2 separate regions of the Homo sapiens genome follow, and region 1 is linked to region 2. Evidence: promoter capture Hi-C in 16 types of primary human blood cells and fetal thymus (Javierre and others, 2016). All regions are on one chromosome and are shown on one strand. The core of a region is centred on a gene start or on the middle of the fragment in contact, and the rest is flanking DNA. Distances in the headings are between cores, read along the strand shown.

What was found. The method cuts DNA at HindIII sites, captures the fragments that hold promoters and counts their contacts. A CHiCAGO score of 5 or more calls a contact.
Region 1: a contact is called between the fragment with the promoter of KIF2A here and the fragment with the promoter of ANKRA2 in region 2, in 1 of 17 cell types (total CD4 T cells). The highest score is 6.8, in total CD4 T cells.

What each region holds. Positions count from the first base shown.
Region 1 is chr5:62,304,163-62,308,311 of GRCh38, forward strand. It overlaps KIF2A (kinesin family member 2A), which reads left to right and starts at 2,044. Exons shown (of 21, transcript NM_001098511.3): 1 at 2,044-2,374. The coding sequence starts at 2,311. RefSeq lists a silencer at 1,748-2,777. The HindIII fragment of the contact is 9,341 bases long and covers 1-4,149 here.
Region 2 is chr5:73,563,706-73,567,951 of GRCh38, forward strand. It overlaps ANKRA2 (ankyrin repeat family A member 2), which reads right to left and starts at 1,934. Exons shown (of 9, transcript NM_023039.5): 1 at 1,427-1,934. It overlaps UTP15 (UTP15 small subunit processome component), which reads left to right and starts at 2,038. Exons shown (of 13, transcript NM_032175.4): 1 at 2,038-2,207; 2 at 3,557-3,729. The coding sequence starts at 3,640. RefSeq lists enhancers at 1,194-1,748, 1,328-1,377, 1,398-1,607, 1,618-2,177, 1,749-2,303. The HindIII fragment of the contact is 2,502 bases long and covers 1-2,349 here.

The sequences.
Region 1 (4,149 bases), core at 794-3,293, about 11 Mb before region 2:
TATTTTAAAAATACAAAAAATTAGCTGGGCGTAGTGGCACACGCCTGTAGTCCCAACTACTTGGGAGGCTGAGGCAGGAGAATAACTTGAACCTGGGAGGTGGAGGTGGCAGTGAGCTGAGATCATGCCACTGCACTCTAGCCTAGGCACGACAGAGTTAGACTTCGTCTCTAATAATAATAATAATAATATTTTATGAAACAATGTTAACTTTGAGCTGTATAGCTTGATTTCTTTGCATTCTTTATAAAGTATAAATAAAATATAAATAGATGTTTTATACCTCAGTTGCAGAGACATCAGAAAATGAATTCTAGACAGGAGCTTGAAGAGTTCAGATAAAACTCCCAAAATTATAGAAAAAATAAAAACTAAACCCTGATTTGGTCAAATTTCACTTGAAACCGGGGTACTCAAGTGTGTCATTTCTGGAATGTAAAAGAAGTTATTTTCCACATTGTCTATCCAGTGTGGTTTTTTTTCCATAGAAATTATATGCACTTTAGAATGGATTCAATAGAATTGTTCTTTTGACAGGTATACCTTCAATATGTTCAAGCTACAGATGAAGCCAGTCTTTTAACAGTTTTTTAAGGACCTACATGATTACTTACATTAGATAGAAAACTCTAGGCACACATATATCCACATAAGCATTGATGTATATATCCAGTTTCCAATTTTAAAATTTTAAATTGTATATTTGTAGTTATTGTTACAGGGAGATTATCAATGACTAGGGAAGGCCGGGCGCAGTGGCTCATGCCTGTAATCTCAGCACTCTGGGTGGTGGAGGCGGGTGGATTACCTGAGGTCAGGAGTTTGAGACCAGCCTGGCCAACATGGTGAAACCCCGTCTCTACTAAAAATACAAAAATTAGCCAGGCGTGGTGGCGCGGGCCTGTAATCCCACCTACTCGGAAGGCTGAGGCGTGAGAATCGCTTGAACACAGGAGGCAGAGATTGCAGTGAGCGGAGATCGCGCCACTGCACTCCAGCCTGAGCGACAGAGCAAGACTCCCCCTCAAAAACAAACAAAACAAAACAACAACAACAAAAAACAATGACTAGGGAAAGTAGGCCATGAAAAGTGTTGTTTCCAACCTATCAATTGCCAGTACTACAAGCAGGAGTTAGACGTTTGGAGGTTTTCACACGGTGCTATAAATACAGTTTCCAGGGCCCCGGTACACGTGGCCTTCCTGCTCTGCCAGGATGGAGAGTCTTGCTTTCCACATTGCTGATGTGGTCAGACTAATTAAATTATTGCAAAAAGACACATTCCCTAGTCAACCTTATGTGTCTGCCTTCTTCCCTTGAGTCACAGTTGTTGGCTTTACAGGCCAAGGCAAGTAAGTCTTGAACCCTCAGCAGAAACAGGGCACCAGCATCGGATGCCTCATAACCTGAACAGTTAAGGACGCCCCACCACAGAGCTTCTTTCTGAGTGTGATAAACTATAAGGCAAGACTGTAAAGGGGTGGATCTTCATTTCGATTTAGGGTAGGTGACACCTCAAGGGTGTTTCTTCCCTTCCAGCGTAACTGGATGGGAAACCTACACCAAGTGTGCTTGGGAGGGCTGCTTGGGTCAGCTACCTGTAAGTGGAAATAGGGGGTGCCACCTTCCGATGAAAACCCGGATCCCGTACTGTCAACGGAGGGCCCTTGAATTCACATCCCTCAGCCCGCTAGAAAGCCCCTGAAACCACGTGGCCTTTAACCCATTCCGGCAACAGCGCCAATTCCCGGAAGCGAGAGGGCAAGAAAGCTCGGCGCGACGCTTCCCGCGTCTTCTAGGCCGCGCGCTGAAATCAAACGCGACGCCGGCTAGCTGTGGGCCGGGCCGAGCGCTCAACGCTCCAGCGGCTGGGTAAGCCGCGGCCGCCGCCCACCCCGCTGCAGAGCTGGGCGGGGCCGCCTGGAGGCAGCGGGGAGAGGCCAGCCGAAAAGGAAGAAGAGACGCCGGAGGCGCGCTCTGCGCAGGCGCGCGGCGCCCCGCCTCCCCAGCGTCGGCTCCCCGGCGGGCGGTGCGGGCCCTCCCACTCTACCCCGCGCCGTCTCACGGCCCCGGCCCTAGCTTCACCCCGACTACCCGGCGTGCGCGTCCTCCTGCCGGCCTGCAGGCCCGGGGCCTCCGCCTGCTTCCCCACAGCTGCTCCTTGCGGCCCCGCTTGCGTTCACGCTGTCGCCCGGGCCGGCGCGGCCGCGGGCAACCGCTCCCCCTCCCACACCTACCCCGCCCCCTCCCCGCCTTTTCCGCCCTCCGGTCCCCCTCCCTCGGCCCGCTGCTGCTGCTCCAGATGAGGTGATGGCAACGGCCAACTTCGGCAAGATCCAGATCGGGATTTACGTGGAGATCAAGCGCAGCGATGGTGAGCCGCGCTGCCAGCCCCGCTGGCCCGCTCGGCCCCGTGTTCGGGTGTGCACGGAGGGGACGCGGGCGCCGGCCGCCTCATTGATTGCTTCGCCGGGCTGTGGGGGTGGGAAGGCGGCGGCCGCGGCGCTTTTGTGTGTGGCGTGTGTGCCAGTGAGGCCGGCTTGGGGTCCGCCCGGGCGCTGCTGCAGTTCTCCGGATCGGGCCGCGGGGGAGGGAAGCCGGGTGGGGAAAGGGCCCGGGTGTCGAGGGTCGCGTCTCCGGGGGTCTCTGGGCGAGGGCCGCTCGCTCCTCCTCCCGCAATCTCCAGCCCCCCCCCGGGGACACCAGCCCGGGAGGGAGCGGGCTTCGTTAGGGATGACCCTGCCTCGCGCTTCCCCTTGGTCTTTGCATTTTACCGGCTTGGCCTCTGACGGGGATGGGGATGGGGGTGGGGGAGCGGGAAGACCAGCGATTTCACATTTAGAGAACCGACTGCTGGTCGGAGGCCGAGATGGGGGGAAAGAGCCAGTTCCGTCGCCTTAAACTGCCGTCTGGTTGTCAGGCCTCCCCGGTTTCGTCGTCGACCATGCTGCTTTCTTTTTTGCCACTTCTTGGGAGAAAAATGTGGAGAATATCGCGCTGAGCCATGAATAAGGGTGGGGGAGCAATGGGAAGAAATATTCGATGGGCTTCTCCAAGGTGATGAGACTGTAAAGGGAATGATAGGGGATGGGCAGAGTCAATGCGAGGCACTGCTGAGAGAGTGGGGGTGGGCGACCGGATGTTGATATTTTCACACCCTCGGGAGAGGTAACTGAGAAAAGTGTAAGGCGAGGTGAAGACACATGCTTCATTTTTTTTTTTAAGAGCCTTAGGCTTATGTATCTTTCTCTAGGTTTCTCTTGGGGAAAATGGTTTATGACACTAGCTTGGGGTGTGGAGTGAGATACGCCAGCCAGACTGGAAATAATTCATATTGTAAAGGAATAAATGCACGGAGGGAGATAAGTAAAATTATTTTCTTTCGGTACCAATATTGAAAGAACGAGAGATGTGTGATAATCTCGAGTTGAGCAGTGTTCCTGACTCCATCTCTCATACCGATTCCTTTTTTTTTTTTTTTGAGACGGATTTTCACCCAGGCTGGAGTGCAGTGGTGCGATCTCGGCCCACTGCAACCTCCGCCTCCCGTGTTGAAGCTATTCTTGTGCCTCAGCCTCCTGAGTAGCTGGGATTACAGGCGTTGTCACCACACCCAGCTAATTTTTTGTATTTTTAGTAGAGACGGGGTTTCACCATGTTGACAAGGCTGGTCTCGAACTCCTGACCTCAAGTGATCCACCTGCCTCGGCCTCCCAATGTGCTGGGATTACAGGCGTGAGCCATCGCGCCTGGCCTCGATTCCTTTTATGAGTGCCTTATTTATTAACCTTTAGCCTAGCCTAGTCAGTAGTAACTTGGCTGTCACGTCCACGTGCCCCTTGGATTCTGCCAGGTTTGACCAAGTTACGTGAAGCTAGATTGATTTTCATGTTGTGTGTATGATATATTGGAAGACCCTATATAGCTAATGATTTTTTCCTCCGTTATATTTGAAGTAATTTGTGGTAACAACTGAAACCATCGTTATCCTGTATATGAAAAGATAAATTATACCGCTTAGAGCTTTAGAAATTACCAATAACACTAATGGGAAAGAGATACCTTCTTTACTTGGGTTGAGGTTTCTTTTATATTTTCTCTTCAGATTACTTTCTTGAAAGAGTGCTGTTAATGTCATTTTTTTAGGTA
Region 2 (4,246 bases), core at 684-3,183:
GACAGAAAGGAAATTAATAACATCCAGTTAATTTTTTCATGTTAGGGTTAATTGCCTCTTAGGAATTTTGAGAGGGTGCAGGGTGTTTCAAAATTGGAATTGGAATTAAAAGAAAAATGCATTAGGATCGCAGTGGAGCAAGGGTCGCGAAACCATACATTTACAGATAACCACCTTCTACAATTTTAAAAACATTTTCAAAGATTAGTCTTTATAACAATCCTTTGAGTAGGCAGGTCAGGTAATCATATGTCCACCTAGGAGGGGTAAAAAAGGAAGCTCATGAATTATGAGGGCTTACTCAGCTCTTCTGACTCCATCACTCTGACCATTAAAATGAGGCAGCCCTAAACAAAGCCAAAATCTCCACGAGAGAGTTGAATAAATAACACATAGTATAGTAAGGAAAAAAAAAAAAAGCAGGAAGTAAGAAGGTTAATACATTTGGGCAAAAAGAAGGAAACCAGAAAAGAAAATTAGTTCAGTGATTCAAAGGGAGATGGATGTGCAATGCATTAGTCCATGCGTCTTAAAAGGGACTGGACAATGTGAACTGTGTTTCCTGAGGGAAGAACCATCTCCCCCTTTCTCCTATCCAGCGGTTGGCTAAGTGCAACTCCCCTAAGCTCTCTGAGCACCCTGCATGTATCTGTATTTTAGCATTCACCATCCTTTTGACAATTTCCATTTAAATAACAGCTAAATTGAAAACTCCCCTAGGATGGGGACCACTCTTACTAATTTTTGCACACAGAACAGTACTTGGTCCTACCAGGTGCTCCATAAATGTTTTCTGATCTTAACTTTAACAATTTTTTCCATATTCTTTTCTATTTCTAACATTTGCTGATTAGACCTGGCTTTCCACTCCCAACATCGCTACTAACTAGCTGGCCACTCCTGGACAAATAAATAATACAAGTTTTCTGAAATTCATCTATTATAAAAAGGTGTTGAAATAGGCCTTTCTAATATTCTTTCCAGCTCTAAACAGCTTCCATGTTACAAATCAGGGTTTATAGATGGAATTACAGGTCTTCGAGAGGAGAATAGCAAATGTGCTTAGGCGAAGGGGGTGGGTGGAAAATGAACGCTTATCTTGGCACAGCAGTTTAACGAGAGGAGAAGCAAAGTTGATTGGTAGGCCAAAATTTTGAAGAACAGGAGAGGGAGGCGGGGGTGAGGGGAGTGGGGTAACAGGACTTAGAAGAGGTGGTGGTGAGAAAAAGGGGGTAAGGCAATCGATAGCTAGGTTCACCTCGATCTGTCAGAGCCCAGGGATGAAGGGATAGAGAGTCTACGGAGATAAAGTGGGCAGCTATGCTAGTTCCTGTGGATGCTAATAACAGGAGCCCCTCGTTTCTTCCTGATCCTGGAATTATTCTACAAGGAGAGGAAGGTGCTATGAAAATAAATGATGCCTCACAGGCGACAGGTGTCCCAGCGTCCCGAGACAGGAGCCCGCTGTCTCCCGCTGGAGGGGAGACTCTTGCAGGAAAGAAAGTCCGTTCTGTCGCCACCGGCCAGCTGTGCCCGAAAAGTCCCAGGAAGAAACTCTCGCTCATCCGCGGCGAGCGGATCCCGGGCACAGGGGCTGGAGGCCGACCCGGTGAGAGTGCAAGGTCTCGCGACCACCGACGACAGCAGACAGCGAGTCGGGCCTTCCCATCTGAGGCCAGCTTCAGTACAGGCCTCCAAGCCCGGGCTTGTTTTGGCCGCGACGTCACTTCCGATTTCTTCTTTCGCCTTCTGGCTAAAAAACGTTCCGCAGCAATGCAGCTGAAACTTTCGGGTTTTCTTTTTTTTGTCCCTCTCTCCTTTTTTTTAATATTTTTGTTTTTGCCGCCTTTACGCTCCGAGGCCCATCCTGCCGGAGTACTACACAGACAGGGTCATTTCAGTTGACGGTTCTGGGTCACCAGAGCAGAGGAAGCCCCAATTTCGCCCTCCGGTCACACCTCCTACTCCAGATCGCCCCGCCCACCTGACCCGCCTCTGCGCCGCCGGGCTGCGTGAGTCTCATGAGCGTGCTCTGGTACGTCATCTTCGCGCGACGTTCGGTTCGCTGTGTGTGTCGCCGGCTCCTTGAGGGTCCATGTGATTTTTACGCCAGTGCTGCTGAACTGTGCAGGGTAGGGAGCTGGCACAGTCCGATTAATTGTCCTTGGGTCGAGGTGTCTCGTCGGACCCTTTGGGGCTCAGTGGAGGTAGGTGAAGGCGGCTCCCATTGAGGGAAGCCCACACTCACACCCGGCCTTCCTGTGTTAATCTGGCATGCTCTTCTGGGGCTTCCCAGGCTATATAGGAGAGTGGCCAAATTCTTTAACCGGCTCAAGTTCCCCTCAATTAAGCTTCGACCTAGGTTCTTCTCTGCGATTACACCCTTTCCTGTCCACCGTTGTTAGTTCCCGGAGTAATCAGCAACTCTCCAAGGCAATGGACACATTTCCATCTTTGCCTTTGCTTACGAGGCTCCCTCAGGTGAAGTGAACCTAATGGAGTTTTAAAATATTTGGGAGATAAAATCAGCAGATCTTGTTAACTATTTGGATGTTAGGAGTGAGGAAGAAAAGGACACGTCAAGGCTGAGTCTAGGTTAATATCTGGTGCCAGTCACCAGCCAAAATGGAGTATATTGGAGTAAGCAAAGGCACAGACCATGTCTTTATTTCATTCACCATTATAGCCCCAGTGCCTAGAGCAGTGTCCTGCACATTGGTAGGTACTTTAATGAACAGAAGAGTGTTCCCAAAGACCAGTGAAATACAATCATTGGTCATTGTATTTCATTAAAGCACCTTTTAAATATATGTTACACCTATTTATCGTGGTGTTACTAATGTAAAGTTTTCAGGCTTTTTGGAATAGATGATGAGCAGCACCTCTGGAATCATTTACCTGATAACATTGAATCTCTTTTGCAATTGAGTCGTTCTGGAAAAATGTTTTGGCTTGATTGCATGTTATTTAAAAGTTTTATCCTATTCTGCCACTTTAGTGTTGAATTTAATTTCAGGACTGCTTTATTACAGTTTTCTTTCCTACTGTTTAAACCTTTTAAAGTAAATTTAATTTTAAGCTTCTACATTAGAATATTAGCTTTGTGTTTCTTACTTCTTGGCATTTTTAGGCTTTCAGGAAATCAAATCCGTAACTATAATTGTTATAGATTAAATGTCATCTTAAACTTGGTTTCAGGAAACTTGTATTTGCAGTTTCACCTTAATATTTCCTGTTGCCAAAAAATGGACACTCAAAGCCAGCATGATCCTTTTTGGTTTGGCTACTGTAAGGCTGTGCTAGATTTATTCCTAAGTGTTGTAAAATGGTTGGCTAGGTGTGAGAACCTTTGTGTACAGCTGAATAGATGGTGCGATATGATAGCCTTCACTTTAATTATTCCTGCTTCCTATAGATTGCCTTTTCTGGGTTAGAATTAAATGGCTTATTGGTCTCTAATCTATATACTTCCACACAGACTTTTTAAAGAAAGCAGAGTGAAAATCAACTATGTGTACAAGCTTATAATATGTATATAAAATATTTTATTTTTCAGAATTAAGGCAGAGTCACTGTAATTATTTCTAATACCAATTCCAAAATAGTGACTCTTGGACAATAGTGCAATTATATGGAATTATGGCTGGTTATAAGCCTGTAGCTATTCAGACATATCCTATACTTGGTGAAAAAATCACCCAAGATACACTGTACTGGAACAACTATAAGGTGAGTGTGGGACGTAATGAGGGAGAAGGGATTTGTGTTTATGCCAATTTCTCTAGCATATGTTATACTCTGGATGCTCTAACAGAGAATTATTAACTGAAAACCATCTATCAGCAGCTTATAGTTTGGGCAGATAATTTGATATCTATTTTTTCTTGGAATTTTATGTAAAAGTCCATACTGCTTAATCAGATTAACCATACAAATGCCTAGCACAGAACAGATGATCAATCAATGCCAAATGAATTAAATTTTAAAATTTGAATCTCATATGTGTAAAGATGTTTATTGAAGTATTGCTTGTAATAGTAGAAATCTTGAAAAACCCATGTCTATTAGTAGTGGACTGGTATAGTAAATTACAGTGTGCCCTTATAATGGATGGTAAGTCTATTGCTCCTATGAAAGCTAATATGTGTTACTAAGTGAAAAGAAGCAAGATGTGGAACAGCCTACATGGTATGATTATCTTTTTGTTATTTTAAAAGTACAAGTACGTGGTTATTGTATGCTGGTG